Regions from separate parts of the Homo sapiens genome. Here region 2 is linked to region 1. The links are contacts of gene promoters, found by promoter capture Hi-C in blood cells and fetal thymus (Javierre and others, 2016). All regions are on one chromosome and are shown on one strand. The core of a region is centred on a gene start or on the middle of the fragment in contact, and the rest is flanking DNA. Distances in the headings are between cores, read along the strand shown.

The links. Contacts are between HindIII fragments. The CHiCAGO score rates a contact against its expected background, and 5 or more counts as called.
Region 2: the fragment with the promoter of CYP4F2 here is called in contact with the fragment with the promoter of LINC00661 in region 1 in 1 of 17 cell types (activated CD4 T cells); the score reaches 5.1 in activated CD4 T cells.

The regions. Positions count from the first base shown.
Region 1 is chr19:16,013,747-16,017,325 of GRCh38, reverse strand. It overlaps LINC00661 (long intergenic non-protein coding RNA 661), which reads right to left and starts at 1,692. Exons shown (of 9, transcript NR_026828.1): 1 at 1,537-1,692. It overlaps LOC105372291 (a long non-coding RNA gene), which reads left to right and starts at 2,270. Exons shown (of 2, transcript XR_936355.1): 1 at 2,270-2,355; 2 at 2,941-3,190. The HindIII fragment of the contact is 12,039 bases long and covers 1-3,579 here.
Region 2 is chr19:15,896,546-15,900,124 of GRCh38, reverse strand. CYP4F2 (cytochrome P450 family 4 subfamily F member 2) reads left to right here and starts at 2,051. Exons shown (of 13, transcript NM_001082.5): 1 at 2,051-2,099; 2 at 2,513-2,711. The coding sequence starts at 2,514. The HindIII fragment of the contact is 3,476 bases long and covers 1-3,262 here.

The DNA.
Region 1 (3,579 bases), core at 443-2,942:
GCACCCCTCCACCCCGCCATGGAGTCGCCGTGAGGATGAAGGAGACGACTGTTTGCATGGTCAGCATAGAACGGGCACCCGGTGAGTGCTCATGGATGACCCTCCTCGGGTAGCTGCCACCCACCTGGTTGTGACTGTCCCCAAGTCAGCAGGGGGGAAGAGAGCAGGTCACGCTTTCCTGAGTCTGATCAGGCAGCGGTGCTGAGATGTGCTTCTCACCCAGAAAAGGGTCCTTTCTGCACAACCACTTACAGCACCTCTGTGTCTCCAACTGCTCCATGACACGGAGGTAGGCTGGCGGCACTTGGCACAGTGACAGCATGGGTTCACAGCCTCTGTCATGACGGGGCCCTACCTGGCTCAGCAGGGCCCAGGGTCAGCGTCCTCTGCCCGCTTAATGGTCAACATGTATGCGTGCAATTTGTCTGTGTATGTGAGGATGCATGTGTGTGGGTGAACACGTCTCTCCTCCAGCTGGGCCTGGCTGCTCCACTCAGGTGTGCACCTGGATCCCTGTCACTGTCACCCCCGGGCCTGTGGCCAGCATCAGAGCACCCATAGGTGCTCCTCAGCCTCTGCTCTTTCCATGCTGGGTGGTCCTGGGGATGCAGATGGGGCAGGGACATAGGGCAAAGGGCAGAGGGCAGAGGGCAGAGGGCAGAAGCCAGGCTTCCCCCTTGGGGTGACTCGCGTAGTGTGTAAAGTGCCAGGTCTGTGTGGCAGGGCTGGATTCAATGCAATGCACCCTCTCACCTCCTCCTCCCAGAAGCCCACTGGGGTGCTGTGACTCACCCCCCACCCCATGGATGGAGGCAATCACGGAGGCTTCGAGGACTAACCCGTGGCCTGAGATCACCCAGGATCCCACTGGCCAGGCTTCCAATGGTTAAGCTCCCACTGAACAGGTCCTAGCTGACCACCCCCACAATGACCAGGTCCCACTGACCAGATGTGGACTGACCAGGTCCTGCTGACTGGGCCCCACAGACCAGGCCCTGGCTCATCAGACACCACTGACAAAGGCCACAATAACAAGGCTGCAACTGACAAGGCCCTCACGGCCCTCACTGACTAGGTCCCAACTGATGGACCCCACCAAATAGATCTCACTAATCAGACCCCCGCTGACCAGGCCCTAACAACTGCTGGACCCCTGCTGGCCAGGCCCCAAATGCTGAACCCCACTCACCAGGCCCCAAAAGCTGAACCCCACTGACTGGGCCCCAAATGCTGGATCCCTGCTGACAGGCCCCAACTATGGGATCCCCACCAACCAGGCGCCAACTGTCAGACCCCTGCCAACCAGGCCCCGGACGCTGGACTCCACTGACCATGTCCCAGCTACTGGACCCCCACTGACCAGGCCCCAACAACTGCTGGACTGCACTGATCAAGCCCAAACTGCCAGACCCCACTGACTGGGCCCCAACTCCTAGACCCCTCCTGACTGAGCCCCAACTGCCAGACCCTTGCCAACCAGGCCTCTTCTTATGAGACCCCTGCTGACCAGACCCCAACTGCTGGGCCCCTGCTTACCAGGCCCCCACATCCACACCTCACTGACTAGGCCTCACTGCTCTGATCCCCGCCGATCAGGCCCCAAATGCCGGGCCCAGATGACCAGGCCTCAACTGCTAGACGGCCCACCAACCAGGCCTCAGCTCCTGGACCCCTGTTGACCAGGCCCCAACTGCCAGACCCCAATGACCAGGCCCCAACTGCCAGAGCCCTGCTGACCAGGTTCCAACTGCTGGATCCCCTTTGACCAGGCCCCAACTGTTGGACCCCCGACAACCAGGTCCCAACTGCCTGATTCCGCCAACCAGGCCCCAACTGGTAGACCCCTGCTGACCAGGTCCCAACTGCGAGACCCATGCAGATGAAGGCCCAGCGTCCAGACCTCACTGCCTAGACCGCACTGATCTGATCCTCACTGACCAGGCCCCAACCGCCAGACCCCACCTACCAGGTCCCAGCTGCTGCATCCCTGCCAAATAACCCCCAGCTGCCGTATCCCCTCTGACCAGGCCCCAACTGCTGGACCCCCTCCAAACAGGCCCCAACTATAAGACCCCGCTGACCAGGCCCCAACTGCCAGACCCCCATGGACGAGGCTGCAACTGCCAGATCTCTGCTCACCAGGCCCCAACTGTGGGACCCCCGCTGGCCAGACCCCAACCATGAGACCCTCGCCAAACACGCCCCAACTACTGGACTCTTGCTGGCCAGGCCCCAACCCCCAGGGCCTAGTCAGTCAGTGAGACCTGACTAGGTCTCACTGATCAGATCCCCGCTGACCTTGCCCCAGCTGCAGACCCCTATTGACTGTGGGCGGAGGATTACCCAGGTGCCGAGGTGAGAGACTGAAGACACAAACTGTTTCAGTATAATAAAGAAAATAGTTAGAATAAGAATAGTCATAATACAAATTAGATATAGAGATGATCATGGACAATTATCAATCATTATTATAAACATTATTAATCATTAGCTTTTAATATTACTCTTTGTTGCGTTACTAACATAACCTAGGAATAACTGGCGGGTAGAGGGTCAGGTGCTGAAGGGACATTGTTAGAAGTGACCTAGAAGGCAAGAGGTGAGCCCTCTGTCAACGCGTGCATAAGGGCAGCTTGAGGGCTCCTTGGTCAAGCGGTAACGCCAGTGTCTGGGAAGGCGCCCGTTACTTAGCAGACTGCGAAAGGGAGTCTCCTTTCCTTGGAGGAGTCAGGGAACACTGCTCCACCAGCTTCTTGTGGAAGGCTGGATATTATCTAGGCCTGCCGCAGTCATCCGGAGGCCTAAACCCCTCCTTGTGGTGCTGTGCTCCAATGGTCACTTTCATGTTCCTCCCGTACTCCTGGTTCCTCTTTGAAATTTGTAGTAGATAGCGGTAGAAGGAATAGTGAAAGTCTTACAGTCTTTGATCTTTCTTGTAAGTGCATAGAAGAAAACGCTGACGTATGCTGCCTTCTCTCTCTCTGCTTCGGCTACCTAAGAGGGAAGGGCCCCCTGTGCTGTGATCACGTGACTTGCTTCACCTTGTCAATCACTTAGAAGATTCACCCTCCTGACCCTACGCCCCTTGTCTTGTATGCAATAAATATCAGTGTGCCCAGCCATTCAGGGCCACTACTGGTCTCCGCGTCTTGATGGTAGTGGTCCCTCGGGCCCAGCTGTTTTCTCTTTATCTCTTGGTCTTGTGTCTTTATTTCTTACGCTCTCTCGTCTCTGCACACGGGGAGAACACCCGCTAAGTCCCGTAGGGCTGGACCCTCCAATCAACCAGGTCCCAACTGCTGGACCCCACTGACCAGGCCCCAGGAACTGCCGGCCGCCTGCTGACCAGGCCCCACTGGTCCGATCCCCACTGAGCAGTCCCCTGCTGATCAAACCCCACTGACCAGATTTTCCATGACCTGACCCTCATTGAATGGATCCCGTTAAGCCGACCACAATGACCATGTCCTCACTGACCAACACCCCCGTGAGTAGGCCCCCCCACTGACTAGGCTTCTGATGACCAGGCCCACACTGCCAGGGCCCCACTGACCAGACCACATGACATGGCCCCACAGA
Region 2 (3,579 bases), core at 802-3,301, 120 kb after region 1:
GTGGATCCCGCACCGGGGCTGCAGGTGGAGCTGCCTGCCAGTCCCGCGCCGTGCGCTCGCACTCCTCAGCCCTTGGGTGGTCGATGGGACTGGGCGCCCTGGAGCAGGGGGCGGCGCTCATCGGGGAGGCTCGGGCTGCACAGGAACCTACGGAGGCCGGGGGCTCAGGCATGGCGGGCTGCAGGTCCTGGGCCCTGCCCCGCGGGAAGGCAGCTAAGGCCCGGCGAGAAATCGAGCGCAGCGCCGGTGGGCTGGCACTGCTGGGGGACCGAGTACACCTTCCCGAGCAGCCGCTGGCCCGGGTGCTAAGCCCCTCATTGCCCGGGGCTGGCAGGGCCGGCCGGCTGCTCCGAGTGCGGGGCCTGCCAAGCCTACGCCCACCTGGAACTCTAGCTGGCCCGCAAGTGCCGCGCGCAGCCCCGGTTCGTACTCGCGCCTCTCCCTCCATACCTCCCTGCAAGCTGAGGGAGCCGGCTCTGGCCTTGGCCAGCCTAGAAAGGGGCTCCTACACCTATAAGTGAGAATATGCGGTGTTTGGTTTTTTGTTCTTGCGATAGTTTACTGAGAATGATGATTTCCAATTTCATCCATGTCCCTACACAATGAGAACATATGGACACAGGAAGGGGAACATCACACTCTGGGGACTGTTGTGGGGTGGGGGGAGGGGGGAGGGATAGCATTGGGAGATATACCTAATGCTAGATGACGAGTTAGTGGGTGCAGCGCACCAGCATGGCACATGTATACATATGTAACTAACCTGCACATTGTGCGCATGTACCCTAAAACTTAAAGTATAATAATAATAATAAAAAAATCCAAAAAAAAAGAAAAGAAGAGAAAAGAAAGGGGCTCCCACAGTGCAGCGGTGGGCTGAAGGGCTCCTCAAGTGCCGCCAAAGTGGGAGCCCAGGCAGAGGAGGCGCCGAGAGCGAGTGAGGGCTGTGAGGACTGCCAGCATGCTGTCACCTCTCAGTGGGAGCAGGTGTGACAAGAGTTGGGCAAATCAGACCTTTAATCCACCCTGATAGGCTGGAGTGTGGGCTTATGGCATTTCTCCTTTGACCCAATTAACCTCCACTCCCAATGTATCTCTGTGCAGAAGGCTCAGCTAGGTGTATCAGCCATTGTAAATCCTCAACATAAATTATAATTTAACCTAGAATACAGAGACTAGGTAGCAGGAGGAGAGGAAATGTAGAGATACTAATCTCTTCTCCCTTATCAGAAAGAAACCTAGCATAAGAAATTTCACGCTTAATGGGCCAAAGAGTAAATCAGAAAACTCCATGGGTGATGGTATGCTCATGGTGGTGGTGGTGGTGATGGGGAATTATTTGCCCTCCTGTGACCTCCCTTGGATTAATTTCTCCCCAGGACAATGGGAAAAATCATTTAATCCTTGGAGTTTTTTTTTTTTTTTTTTTTTTTTTTTTTTTTTTTTTTGCTTGAGAGTGACTCTGATCCTGTTTCTGATGGTCATGTTCCTCAGCATCATACTGAGTAAGTCACTGGCCTTGTAGCATCTGGAGTGATTGGAGTGATCCAAGATCCCTAGTTCCCATGTCACAAATGAGGATCCCACATATCTGGGACAGAGATGGAACATTATTTCTGGGTGTGTCTATCTAATCTATTCATCCTATCTATCTAATTTCTCATCTATATATATATTTGCCTACCCATCCATCCATCAATCCATCTTAGCTGTACGTTTATCCATTCCATCTATTTATCCTATTATCTATGTATCTATCTATCATCTATTAATAGCTATCTATCCATCTGTCTAATATATCCATTATCTATATCTACTTTATCTATCTACCTAATGTATCCATCCTATCTACTCTATCTATCTGTGCATCTACCCATCCATCTGGACCCTGAGCTGATTCCTCTGCACCCAGCTGGCCTGACGCCAGGTGTTGATTGGCTGCCCAGGCTCAGGAGACACATCCAGGCTGCAGGGATTGGTTGGCCCAGCCCAACCCAGCCAGCCCTCCCACAGCCTTTGCTATATCAAGGGCCAGGGTCAAAGGCCTCCCAGCAGACAGAGAGAGGAGGTTGTCTGGGACAGACTGCTCCTGACAGAAGGTGCCAGGCTGGGGGTGGCAGGCCTGGGGGGGGTCCTGGCCTGGGATGGAGAGGGGCACTGCCCAAGGCCCACGCAGCTCCTGGGTGCTGGCCTGGAGGATGGGTGGTTTCCGAGTAACTGAAACCAAGCCCCTGGCAACCTCACAGTGATTCAGGCTGGGCCTTTCTGGACTTTAATCAGTCTCTCTCTCTCTTTCCCATTCTAAGTGCTTACTAGGGAACTGGAGGCCACTTGGCTGCTGGTTTTGGTTGGGCCTTTCTGGACTTTACCTCTCAGCCCCTTTTTACCCATCCCTGAGCCCTCCCTGCTCTACCTCCGGCACTGCCCGTCCCTGCCTCTCCACTGTCCCTGGAGGTCCCTGGGCCGTTCTCTGGGCCTCAGGATCTCACCGTCCATCCCGTCTGCCCTGCAGGATGTCCCAGCTGAGCCTGTCCTGGCTGGGCCTCTGGCCAGTGGCAGCATCCCCTTGGCTGCTCCTCCTGCTGGTCGGGGCCTCCTGGCTCCTGGCCCATGTCCTGGCCTGGACCTACGCCTTCTATGACAACTGCCGCCGCCTTCGGTGTTTCCCACAACCCCCAAGACGGAACTGGTTTTGGGGACACCAGGGCATGGTGAGTGTGGCAGCAGGATGGGTCTAGGTCTCAGGATGGATGGACTTCCTGAGGGGTACGAGGCTTAGGGAGTGGGGGTGAAGGGGTGGGCTGGGATCTGGGGTGGCAGAGAAGCAGAGGAGGCATCTTACTCATTCCTCTGCTTATTCATTTCTGTGAGGTGCCTACGCAAGCCCTTCTCACTTCCTTGTCCTCCCACTCCAGGCCTGCATTGAATCCTTTTCCTGCCTGTCTTCCCACATTAATGCACCTCTGCGGGGCTCCTGGGCAGAGGGTTGGCTGCACAGAGAGGCGAGTCCCTGGCATTCCCACATTCTCCATTGCTGGACTCGAGGCTTCTTATGCCCACTGTCCAGGGTCCTCTCCTTGCCTGGACTATTTCCTGTTATGAGGGTACAGCTGGGCCAGAGGAGAGGCATGGGCCGTCTCCCACTTCCACTACACCCGAAGGCACCTTTCTCTTATATTCTTCTTCTTATCTCCCTCTTATCAATGAGACCTGTTGCCAAACCCAGATAAAAGTTGGCCACTCACTTCACCTTTCAGAAGCTTTCCTTGGCCTTTCTCCTCCCCGTGACCTTGCCCTCTGACTTAGACCGCTCTCCTCTTTGGGGAATGTGGTCTTAGTCTGCTCATTTGCAAATGGCAGGATTGATGGATGTGTCCACAGATAAAGTGGAAGGGTGCACAGGACACACTAGCACAGAGCCTGCTGCAGAAGCTGCTCCCAGGTGGGAGCCATTGTCCTGATGGACAGTTAGAGTCACCTCTGCTCCACTAGTGGCTGCTGAAAAGGGAAGGTCTCCCATGTGCAGAACCTTCTCCATGGGAGGAACTGGAGCCTCTGTGGATCAGCCAGGACATGAAG